2 separate regions of the Homo sapiens genome follow, and region 2 is linked to region 1. Evidence: promoter capture Hi-C in 16 types of primary human blood cells and fetal thymus (Javierre and others, 2016). All regions are on one chromosome and are shown on one strand. Each heading gives the region's core, a stretch centred on a gene start or on the middle of the fragment in contact. The rest is flanking DNA. Distances are from core to core; before and after follow the strand shown.

The links. Contacts are between HindIII fragments. The CHiCAGO score rates a contact against its expected background, and 5 or more counts as called.
Region 2: a fragment that was not itself captured here is called in contact with the fragment with the promoter of ZNF22 in region 1 in 3 of 17 cell types (erythroblasts, M1 macrophages and megakaryocytes); the score reaches 8.4 in erythroblasts.

What each region holds. Positions count from the first base shown.
Region 1 is chr10:44,997,110-45,003,304 of GRCh38, forward strand. It overlaps ZNF22 (zinc finger protein 22), which reads left to right and starts at 3,814. Exons shown (of 2, transcript NM_006963.5): 1 at 3,814-3,869; 2 at 6,171-6,195. It overlaps LOC124902530, which reads left to right. Exons shown (of 3, transcript XM_047426129.1): 3 at 3,671-5,274. The coding sequence ends at 4,300. ZNF22-AS1 (ZNF22 antisense RNA 1) reads right to left here and starts at 3,694. Exons shown (of 4, transcript NR_126421.2): 1 at 3,421-3,694; 2 at 3,177-3,307; 3 at 2,208-2,313. RefSeq lists a silencer at 3,854-4,203 and an enhancer at 3,930-4,430. The HindIII fragment of the contact is 6,687 bases long and covers 1-5,964 here.
Region 2 is chr10:45,208,561-45,214,555 of GRCh38, forward strand. The region is part of intron 3 of LOC105378283 (a long non-coding RNA gene); the gene reads right to left. Among named protein-coding and RNA genes, the nearest start is that of MIR3156-1, 48 kb to the left of the region's middle. The HindIII fragment of the contact is 204 bases long and covers 3,152-3,355 here.

The sequences.
Region 1 (6,195 bases), core at 2,564-5,063:
CCTGCCTCCCACACCCTTGTTCCCTTTCTCCCTTGTGTTTTGTAAATATCATGCGTGACCATTTTCAATAATTTAATTTGCATAAAAATTGCCTAGAATCCCATTTGGGAGATAGACTGTTATAGAGAGGTTAATAGGCTCTGGAGCCAGGCTTTCTGATTTCAAAGTCTGGCTTTGCCACTTACAAATGTGCATGACCTTGGGCGAGTTTCTTGCCTCAGTTTTCTCATCTGTGAAATGGGGATTCTGTGTGGAAGAAAACAAAGTGCTTTCTACTATTCTCTCACTCAGCAGCAATAATCACAAAAGACTTCTGTGACCAAACGGGGTGAGGGATTCTCCCCACACACCAACCAAGCAATCATTTCTGCAGGGACACCAGCTGGGTGTCCTCTAATTCAGTTTTGACACTATCTACTTGGAGATGGCATCACCTCCCATAGGTTGAGGGCTCAGTCCCATAAGATGGTCTCCACCCTTCCCATTAGTTACAAGCCCTGGCCTCTGGAACTTGTGAACTACCCACTTCAAGTTGGGATTCTCGTGACCCCCTCCTTGGGTTAATTTGCAAGAGCGGTTCACAGAACTCAGCGAAACACATTTCCTGGTTTATTACAAATGATATTCCAAAGGATATAGAAAAAGAAATGCATATAGTGAGGTATGAAGGAAAGGGTGCGGAGCTTCCATACTCCTTCCCCTTTGCACCCCCCGACCCCAGGTGGCACCCTCCAGTAACATCCATGTGTTCAGGTATCCAGAAGCTCTCTGAACCCAGTCCTTTGGGAGCTTTTATGGAGACTTTGTAACACAGGCATGATTGATTAATCCATCAGCCATTGGTGATCCACTTCACCTTCAGTTGCCCTCCTCCCCAGATGTTGATGGGGTGGAGCTGAAATTGCCATCCTTCTAATCCTGCTGTGGTCTTTCCAGTGACCAGCCCCATCCTGAAGCTACCCAGGGGCTGCCAGGCATCAGTCAACTCATCAGCATATAAAAAGACATCACTTTGGAGATTCTAAGGATTTTAGAAGTTGTATGTCAGGAAACGGGGAGAAGATCAACTATGTATTTCACAATATCACAGGATAATAACAATTCCTATCTCTTACGGTTGGTGGGAGGTACATTAGTCAACTTTAATGCAATAATACCACCAAGAATCTCAGTGTTACAAGAGCATTTGTTTCTCTAACATTACGTGGGACCGTTGTGGTTACATGTGAGCTTCTGTGGCTCTGCTCCATGTGTCTTATCATCCTGGTTCCTAGACTAAAGGGGCAGCCCCTACTTGGGACATGCTATTCTCAAGGCAGAGGGAAAGAGCAGAGTCCTGGCAGAAACACAATGACTTGAAGTTTCTTCTGGGATGTGATGTACCCCTTGCATCCAGTCACATGCGGTCAGCCAATTCAAATCAGTGGTCAAGTCAACATCAGTGGGACAGGCATGTGGTTCACCAGGAGGCACCGGAGTCACACCACAAAGTGCAGGGACCAAAACCAGAGAAGGTGGAGCAAACCCTCAGGAATAATCATGCCTCAGGAATCTCACGTGAGATCCTCAAATGCTGCAAACAGTGCCTGGCACACAATAAGCACTCAATAAGTGTTAACTATTATTATACTAACAGCTAGGCTGAAGGCATAAAACCCTACCTGCTTTCTCTCCCTGTCTTTTTCCCATTCTCCTTTACCCTCCTCTCCTTCATATATTTTTCTGGCTCTCCCTCCTCTCCATCCTTACTGCCCAGGACTCTGTCCACACTTAGGGACACACACCCCTTTATTTCCTGACTTTCGTCTCTCTCTTTTTAAAAAATCCATCCTCGTTTACCCAATGCTTTAGTTGACATACCTCTGGCCCTTCTATGGCTGGCCCAGTTGTTTTCAGGTATAGGAAAAAGGGATAATCCATCTTTATGTAGACATTAAAGGAGTTAGTTTTAATTAGTAACTACCTTACTAACAAAATGGCTTTTTAAAAATTATCTTTTTATTTTAGTGTACATAGAGCAGACAGTCCCAACGGGTCATGTTTGCTCCTGACGCTTTTCCTAAACCATTTCTAGATCTCTGGCCATTGCCCTTTACCCCAAACTCTCCAACCACCAGCATCAACCAACTTATAACAATTTAATAATAAAAGTAACAACGACTCTCATTTCTTCTGTGTTATACATTGTGCTAAGTGCCTTACATTACCTCATTTAATCACTGCAATAGTCCAGATACTCTCTAGATTGCGAGTGGAGCTTCTTTGTCCAGACCTCATTCAGCTTTGTGCTTTGCCATATGCAGAGACAGCTCCCTACAGAGCAGAAAGCCCCAACTTAAGAGAATGAACCTATGACTTAGTTTAGCCTCCACCAACAAACCACTGTATTACTTCAGGCAGGTCAGCCTCTCTTGCTTCAGTTTACTGATTTGCAAGACAGATATGATAATCTGTGCTTCATGAGACTATGGTGAAGATGAATAACCAGAAGATAAGATGTAAAAGTACTTTGTAAACAATAAGGCATCTTATAAATTCATTCATTCAACAGCTATTTACTGAGTGTCTGTTCCCTGCTGAGCACTGTTTTCAGCACTGCAGACACAATAAAGAACTAAAGAGACAGATCATGAGAGGCATCGGGTGCCACTGCGAGGTCCTTGGCTTTGCTCTAATAAGTTGGGAAGCCTTTGAAGGTTTTGAACAAATGAATGACATGATCTAACTTAGGTTTAAGAGGATTACTCTGGGGCCGTGAATAGACTGTAGGGCAACCCGTCTGGAAGCCAATATAATAATCCAGAAGGTGGATGAAGGTGGCTTGGTGGTTATAGCAGTGGAAGTGTTGAAAGTGGCTTGATAATGAATATATTTTAACGATGAAGCCGACAGAATTTGTGGATAAATCACAGGTGAATTTTGGATGAAAAAAAGAAGAGACAACAGTGACATCAAGGTTTTTGGCTTGAGCAACTGGAAAGATGATGGGATCTTCACCCATCCCTGGGAAGAAGACTGTTGCAAGAACAGGTTAGGTAGATATCAGGAATTCATTTGGGGGGTATGTTAGGTTTGGGATGTCCATTACACATGCAAATGCAGCTCTTGAGTAATCAGTTCGATATACAAGTCTAAAGTTCAATAACATTTATGTCCCACAGTCAGACTGGAGTTACCAATGCGGGAGTCTTCAGCATGCAGCAATAGCATTGGAAGCCAAAAGGCGGAGGAGCTCCCCAGGGAGTGGGGGAACACGGAGGTCAGCTGGTCAGATGACTGAGCACGGCCAGGATGGCTGAGGAGGAGCCTGGAAGGAATAAGAACAAAGAGAGATCATTACTAATGAGCAACAAAAGGGGTGTGTTGAAATCAGACTTTGGAGCCACAAAGAACCATTCCAATTCTGGGTCGTCCGCTTACACACGGTGAACGGAGCACATTTCTTCTCTGAGCCTTGGTTCCTTTCCTGTAAATGGAGTATAACCACTCCCATCTTGCAGGAGCTTTTTGGTGATAATTAAGGTGACTTCGTGAAAAGTACCAGGGTCTCAAAAATCTCAAAATTTGTGGAAAGTATGCAGTTTCTAGGTTGGAGAGGCTAGAGTTTGGTTTCAAAAGCCTCGACCACACACAGGGGCGGTTACAGCTCTTGAGGTCCCGGGGGTCACAGGACGCCTTCCGAGTTGGGGGGAGGAGAAAACAAAACCACAGGAAGAAACGAACAACGCTTTCGGGTGGGCCCGGGACCATAGAGGGTCGCTCCGCCACTTTCCTAGAGCGACCGCGGCGGCGCCAGAGCGCGGCGAGGCCCTCACTTCCGGCGGCGCGGGAGGCGCCCAGCGAGCCAGAGTGGTGGCTGGTCCCGCGCGGTGAGTGGGATTGGGGCACTTGGGGCGCTCGGGGCCTGCGTCGGATACTCGGGTCCGCTCGGGAGCGCGCTGGCCGCAACGAGGGCGGCGCGGGCCCGGGCGATGGCGTGGCTTGCGTCTCCCGCCTCCGGGCAGGGCCTGGCCGCCGGGCGGGGGCGGGAGGGCCACGCGGGCCCAGGGTGGGGCCGCGGCCTGCGCGGCGGGCGGGCCGGGTCAATGAGGAGCGGCCGGCGGAGTGCTGGGAACGGGAGGCTTGGACTGGGGGCCCGGGCGAGGCGCGGCCCGCGGCGGGTGGAACTGGGCGGGTGAGCAGCAGCCCCGGCCCCTTCCGTCGCTCGGAGCGTTCGAGGACTAGATACGTGGAACAAATGCTTAGGCAGCACAGGGCTGCTCTGAGCGGTTTTCAGATTCAGACTCATTGCAACTTCTAACATCTTGATGGTGTTGCCACTTTATCATTACCCTCCCCATTTTACGAGGAAACTGAGGCACATTCCAGTTAGCTGGGTGTGCAAGAACAGCAGCTTCTGTCACTCAGGTTTAACTTCGTGCTTGCCCCTGCTGGGGAGCTATGCAAAGCACGGGTCGCCGCGCTGGACTGAGCAATGGAAGATGTGGCTGCCACTAAGAGTACAGGCTCTGGAGTCAAACTGCTAGGGTCTGGGAACCCGGCCAGTGCCTTCTAGCATTGTGCCCTCGTTTCCTTAACTTAAAACGGAAATAACTGCATAAAGGTGCCAGGAGAATTAAAGAGCTAGCACAGAATCAAGTTACACAGTGTCTGGCACATACTAGTATGATTGCCTCATCCGTAGGTGGATTTGACAGTCTGAGTTTCTGACTAGATCTGACTTCCATTGTATTAAATGCGTGTGCTTTTATGTATAATGACCATTATAGTTATTAAAAAAAAAAAAAAGCAACACCAACACCATGTACCTAACACAATGTCTCCTGTGTGGTAGATGTTCTGTAAATATTTGCTTAAGTTAAGGAGTGGGTAGTCCTAACTGTAATCTTGTGTTATATGCGGCTTACTCTTACGCTGACCATAATTACAGCTGATGTAATTATTAAATATCCAGATAAAGTCCTGGACCTAAAGTCTCAATTATACAATAAGATGAAAGGAAGGCAAGAAAAATTATGTTTTTGTTTTCATTTATTTGCTTTATATGTTTGTATGCAAAGAAACCCAGAATAATTGTTTCTATTTTAAATTCCACATTCTGACACAAGATAATGAAAAATAGTTCCAATAATTTTATTGCTTTTGAAGTTCTAGATTTTCCGACATTGCCACCTATGTGGGGTTTGTAGGGGTTTTTGTTGGTTTGTTTTGGCCGTTATTTTAAATAGCCACAAGTCAGCCTTATAAATAAATAAAATCATTTGAAATTTTGAATTTTGCAGCATTTGGGTATTCTAAAAATTCCATCCTAGTTTTACATGTAAACTCATTTTCTCCCCCCTCTCCTTTTCTTGTGTCCTACCTACCATGCGTTTTCTACTCAGTTTCATTCCACTTTCTGGTAAAAGTTCTTTTGCAGTTTTTCTGTCTCCGAAAACAGTACTTTCGTTTTGGGTTTTCAACAAATTGCTTTCTTGGATCATTAGGATCTATAAAAACCAATAATAAAGCGTGTCTTCATAGACTAAGTAAACCTACCACTCCCTGTAGAGAAGTTTCAATTTTCAAAACACTTTATGCTACAGAATTAGAGCTAAACTGTCATCTAGAGCTATGGAAATCGAATGCTAAATACAGATAAACAGGAATATATCATAAAGTAGTGTAATTTGTCATTTCTTATTCATTTGGATACCTTAGGCAGTTACTAGTTAGTAGAAGTTTAACATGGAACTAAATATTAAAGCATAGTAATGTTCTGTTACACAAATTTTGATTGTCTTTTGGAGTTACTCCATTCCCATTAAGATTTACCTTATCTCCACTTTTTAGTTCTTCAAAATTATGTACTCATTTGGTAATGCTTGGAAGATTTATATTTCACCTGATCACTTTTAATTTGTCTTGTCCCAATAGACAGAAACTCCAGTGGTAAACTCAGTCAAAATTTGGTGATATTTGTTAAGCTTAAACTCTGGAATTGTTAGAATTACTTTGCAAGTATTTCCCCCAAATTTCCCCCCATATTATCTTTGTTTGCATTTATACTTTTTAAATTTAAACATGAATGCAATTTTGGTGGGTTGAAGAGATATTAAAATTGAATAGTTAACAGATATCTGTAATTTTTTTTCTGATCATCTCTAAATTTTTTTTCCTTCTACACACAGAAAATTCTGAGCTGTACACCTCTAG
Region 2 (5,995 bases), core at 2,004-4,503, 210 kb after region 1:
TATGTGCTGAAAATCTAGATACAGTTCGAGTTCCAAGGAGCAGGGAGCCATATTTCCACAGTTAAAAACAGATTAGAGATGTATCGCATTTCTGGTTAGCAAATAGAGTCTGGAAGTTGTCACTACCATGCTCACAGTAAGAAAAAGGCTGAGCAAACAAAACAAAAAACTATTCCGTAGATTCATCAGAAAATTGAGGTCACAGGGCAAGCCACCATACTGAAAACTAGAGACAGGCAAACACAGAGAATCACAGCATACTAGGAGCAGAAATACCTGCTGGAGCCAGCAACTGGTAAGGATGCTTCAAGGATAACTGCCTAATTGCCAGAGACTGAGTGGTAGACTAGTTTGAGAGATTAAAAACAACAACAAAAAACAACTTCTGGGAGCCTGGTCTTAAGGGGTCTCCTGTACTTTGCTGAGTTTTACCTCCAAGAGCCCTATCGGTTTCTCAGGGTGAAAAAATTAGATAGGAAAAAAAAATCCCTTTGTGCTTCATGGAAGGGGAGAAGAGCAACCACTGTGAAATAAGGCCAAAGTATTCTGCTCTCCTTAACAAAGGAGAAATGATTTTAGCAGAGCCTAGGCTACCTGGGTTTTACCAGAGCCTGACCAATAGGAAGTAATGGAAATACCCAACTCCAGCCCGCTCACACCTTCCTGTCTCACTTGGGGGACATGCAGGGAAGCTGAGAAACAGCTGTGAAGGTCACAGCCAAGGCTCACTAAAGGACAGAGATCTAAGCACAGGATTACAGAGCATTTCCCTTTTCCCGATCCTGTCTTGTCAGAAGGGCTCCTATAAAATAACATGGAATTATGGCAGAACTTCAATGCTCACACAGTATTTAAGGATTCAACAGGGAAACTCTAAGACAAAAGGGGAGGAAAAAACAAGGAAGACAAAAGAGAAAATGTTACCCTCTGACACCCACAGCTACAAAAATGTGAGAACTCACACTAAAAGCCTGTTTACCTCAGTTCATTTTACCCAATGCATCATGTCTGGCTTACAACAAAATTACAAGCTACTCTAAAAAGAAAAAAATACAGGCTGAAGAGAGAAATAAAGCAAAAGAAGTACACTTGGATATAGCAGATATTTTAAAGTTATCTGACTGGTACTTTAAAATTACTATGATTGATATGCTAAGAGCTCTAATAGAAAAGGTAGACAAAATGCAAGAAAAGATGGGTAATGTCAGCAAAGACAAAAGCCCTAAGAGAGAACTGAAATACTAGAGATTACAAACACTGTAACAGAAATAAAGAGAGCCTCTGACTGGCTCATTAGTAGAATGGATACAGCCAAGGAAAGAATCAGTGATCGTGAAGACATGTCAACAGAAACTTCCTGAACTGAAAAGCAAAGAGAAAAAAGAAGAGTGGAAAAGTGAAACAGAATATCTAAGAAAATGGGAAAATTACAAAAGGCATAACATGCACATAAAGGGAATATAACGAGAGAAAGAACAGAAAAAAATATTTAAATAACTCAGAATATTCCAAAATTAATGACAGAGACCAAACCACATATCCAAGAAGCTCAGGGAACACAAAAAAGGATAATTACCAAAAAATCTACACCTACACATATGACATTCAAACTGTAGAAAGTCAAAGACAAAGACAAAATATTGAAGGAAGTCAGAGGAAAAAAACAAAACAACAACAAAAAAAAAACCTTACCTATAAAGAAACCAGAATAAAAATCACATTGGATTTTTCTTAAGAAACCATGCCAGCAATGGGGTAAAATATAAAGTGCTGAAGGGAAAAACACCCTCCAATCTAGAATCCTGTATTCAATGAAATTATCTATCAAATATAAAGAAATACTTTCTCACCAAAATAAAAATTGAAGAGACATAAAATGTGCTAAAAACAAGCTCGTCACAGAGAATAAAAACAATACAGCAGAAAATAGTGTCTACATAAAGGAAGAGTGTTAAAGAATGAATAAAAGTAATATAAAATGGTGTATTGTTCTTATTCTTAATCTAACAGATAACAGATTGTTCAAAATAGTAACAGCAGCAATGTGTTGGTTGATTATAGTTTACGGATAAGTGAAATGAATGTTAGCAGTTCTATAAAGGACAACAGGAAGGAACTGGAAATGTTTGATTTTAAGGCATCTGCACTGGCTCTGAAGTGGCACAGTGTTATTTAAAAGTGAGTTGACATTCATTGTAAATGTATATTGCAAACTCTAGGGCTATCATTAAGAAGTTTTTATTCCTTGCCTTATCCTCCTTCTAAAAAAAATAAATTTTTGGCTGGGCGCAGTGGTTCACGCCTGTAATCCCAGCACTTTGGGAGGCCAAGATGGGTGGATCACGAGGTCAGGAGATCGAGACCATCCTGGCTAATACGGTGAAACCCCGTCTCTACTAAAAATACAAAAAAAATTAGCCACGCATCATGGTGGGCGCCTGTAGTCCCAGCTACTCAGGAGGTTGAGGCAGGAGAATGGTGTGAACCTGGGAGGCGGAGCTTGCAGTGAGCTGAGATCACACCACTGCACTCCAGCCTGGGTGACAGAGCGAGACGCTGTCTCAAAAATATATATAAATAAATAAATACATACATACATTTTTACATGTAAGTTTGCTGAGAGGAGAGAAAATGGAATATGTTTTGAGTAGAGAAAATGAAATCATACAACATGCTCAATTAAAGCCATGGAAAGCAGAAAAAGAGCAGAAGACAAAAAAAAAAAGAACAAGGGCAAGAATAGAAAACACTTATTATGTAGGTATTAATCTAAGCAATATCAATGATCACATTATATGTTGATAACCAAACATATCAATTAAAAGACTATAAAAGACTATCAGGGTGGATTTTTCTAAAAGAAAAAAAACAGGATCTAACGATATGTTATCTATGAGATATCCACTTTAAATATAAAATATAGAAACAAATTAAAAGTAAAGGGATGGAGAAAGATACATGACACTGAACACTAAGCAAAAGAAAGCTGGAGTAGTCATGTTAATTTCAGACAAAGCTGACTTCAAAGCAAGGAAGATTATCAGAAATAAAAGGGGATATTATATAATGATTAAAAGGTAAACTTTCCAAGAAGACACAGTAATCCTTAATGTGTATGCATCCAACAACAGTGTCAAAATAGCAAGACAAAAGCTTACAGAAATGCAAAGAGAAAGAAACAAACCCACTATTATACTTGGAGACTTCAACACTCCATTCTGTTAGTAACTGACAGATCCAGCAGGCAGAAAATCAGTAAGGGCAGAGTTAAAAACACAACACCACCATCAATCAACTGGATATAACTGGCATCTATAGACTACTCCATCCAACACAAAAAAACACATTCTTCTGAAGCTTGCACAGAACATTCATCAACATAGACCACATTCTGGGCCATAAAACACCCCTTAAAGAGAATAGAAATTATATAAGCTCTCAGTCCACACTGGAATTAAACTAGAAATCAAACAGAAAGATAGCTGAAAAATCCCAAAACATCTGGTCATTAACAATGTATTTCTAAATAACACGTCAAAGAAATCTCAAAAAATTTTTTAAAATATTTTAATTAAATGAATATACTACTTATCAGAATTTGTGAAGTGCAGGGGCTGGGCGCAGTGGCTCAAGCCTGTAATCCTAGCACTTTAGGAGGCCAAGGCAGGCAGATCGCGAGGTCAGGAGATCAAGACCATCCTGGCTAACACAGTGAAACCCCATCTCTACTAAAAATACAAAAAATTAGCTGGGCATGGTGGCGGGCGCCTGTAGTCCCAGCTACCTGGGAGGCTGAGGCAGGAGAATGGCATGAACCCGGCAGGCGGAGCTTGCAGTAAGCGGAGATCACGCCACTGGACTCCAGCCTGGGCGACAGAGGGAGACTCCGACTCAAAAAAAAAAAGAAAAAATTGTGAAGTGCAGCAAAATCAATGGTAAAGGAAATTTATAGCATTAAATGCATGTATTACAAAACAAGAAAGTTCTATTAGGTTGGTGCAAAAGTAATGGCTAAACGGCAATTACTTCTGCACCAACCTTATAAAATCAATAATCCAAACTTCTACCCTAGGAAACAAGAAAAATGAGAATGAATTGAACTACAAGTAAACAGAAAAAAAATTAATAAATATTAGGGCAGAAATCAATGATACTTAAAAGGGGAAATCAATAGAGAAAATGTCTGAGTCCAAAATCTGGTTTTTGGAAAAGATCAGTAAAACTGGTAATCCTCTAGGGAGGCTAGCCAAAAAAAAAAAAAAAAGAACTAATTACTAACAACAGAAATGAAAGAAGGGCCATTACTACTGATTTCATGGATGTTAAAGGGATAATAAAGTAACATTATGAACAACTCTATGTCCAAAAATGTTATAACTTAGATAAAATGGACCAACTGCTGGAAAGGCATAATCTACCAAAACTCACACAGGGAGAAATAGATCCTTTTAGTAGGCCTACGTCTATTAAATAAATTGAATCAGAAATATTAATAACCTTCTAAAATAGAAAGCACCATGCCCAGATAGGTTTACTCATGAATTCTATCAAACATTTAAGGAAGAAACTATACCAATTCTCTACAATGCCTTTCAGAAAACAGAAGCAGAGAGAACAATTCCTAACTCATTCTATGAGGTCAGCATTAAGTCAAAGACATTACAAAAAGGAGAAACTACAGAGGAACATCTCTCATGAACATAGATACAAAAATTCTCAACAAAGCATTTGAAATTAATTCAAAAATGTATTAAGAGTATACACAATGACCAAATGGAACTTACTCCAGGTATGCAAAGGTGGTTCAAATTCAAAAATAAAAGCAATCCATCACTTCAAACAGGCGAAAGAAGAAAATCCATATGATTATATCTATAGATGCAGAAAAAGCACTGGACAAAATCCAACACCCATAAAAACTCTTAGCCAACTAGGAATAGAGGAAAATTTTCTCAACTTAATAAAAAAATCTACAAAAAACCTACAATTAATACGATACTTAATGGTAAGGAACTAGTTTCTTTCCTACTATGGTTGGGAACAAAGCAAGGATGTCACCTGTCACAACTTTTAGCCAAAATCATATTGGAAGTCTTAGTTAATGCAGTAAGAAAAAGCAGAAAAATGTATGCAGATAGGGAAGGATGAATTAAAACTGTCTTTATCCACAGATAATATGATGTCTACATAGAAAATCCCAAATCATCAACAAAAAAGAACTGAAACTAATAAACAACTACAGCAAGGTTGCAGGATACAAGGTTATATACAAAGACAACTGCTTTTCTATATAATTAGAATTTTAAATTAAAAACATATCATTTACATTAACACCAAACAAATGAAATAGTAAGATATATAGCTAACAAAATATGTACAAGATCTATATGAGAAAAGTTTCAAAACTAGTATGAAACAAATCAAAGACCTAAATAAACTGTGAGATAGCCCATGTTCATGAATAGGAAGACCCAACATTGTTACAATGTCAGTTCTTCCCAAGTTGATCTACATATCAATTCCAGTCAAAATACCGGAAAGTTTATGGATATCAACAAACTGATCCTAAAATTTACATGGAAAGGCAGAACAGCCAATGCAATATTGAAGAAAATACAATTGCAGCATTGACACTGCCCAACTTCAAAACTTAGAGTATGGTATTGGTGAAACAATAGACAAATAGATCACTGGAATAAAATAGCCCAGAAATAGACCACACTAATACAATCAACTAATCTTTAGCAGAAGTGCAAAGGCAATTCAGTGGGAAAAGGAGTCTTTTCAACAAATGATGCTGAAACAGATGGACATCAACACACACAAAAATCAATCTAGACAAAGACCTAACACCTTTCACAAAAATAAACTCAAATCACAGACCTATTATATAAAACACAAAGCTATCAAAATTTCTAGATATAACAAAGGAGAAAATCTAGTTGACCTGAGATTTGGCAATGACTTCTTAGATACAATACCAAAGGCACAACTT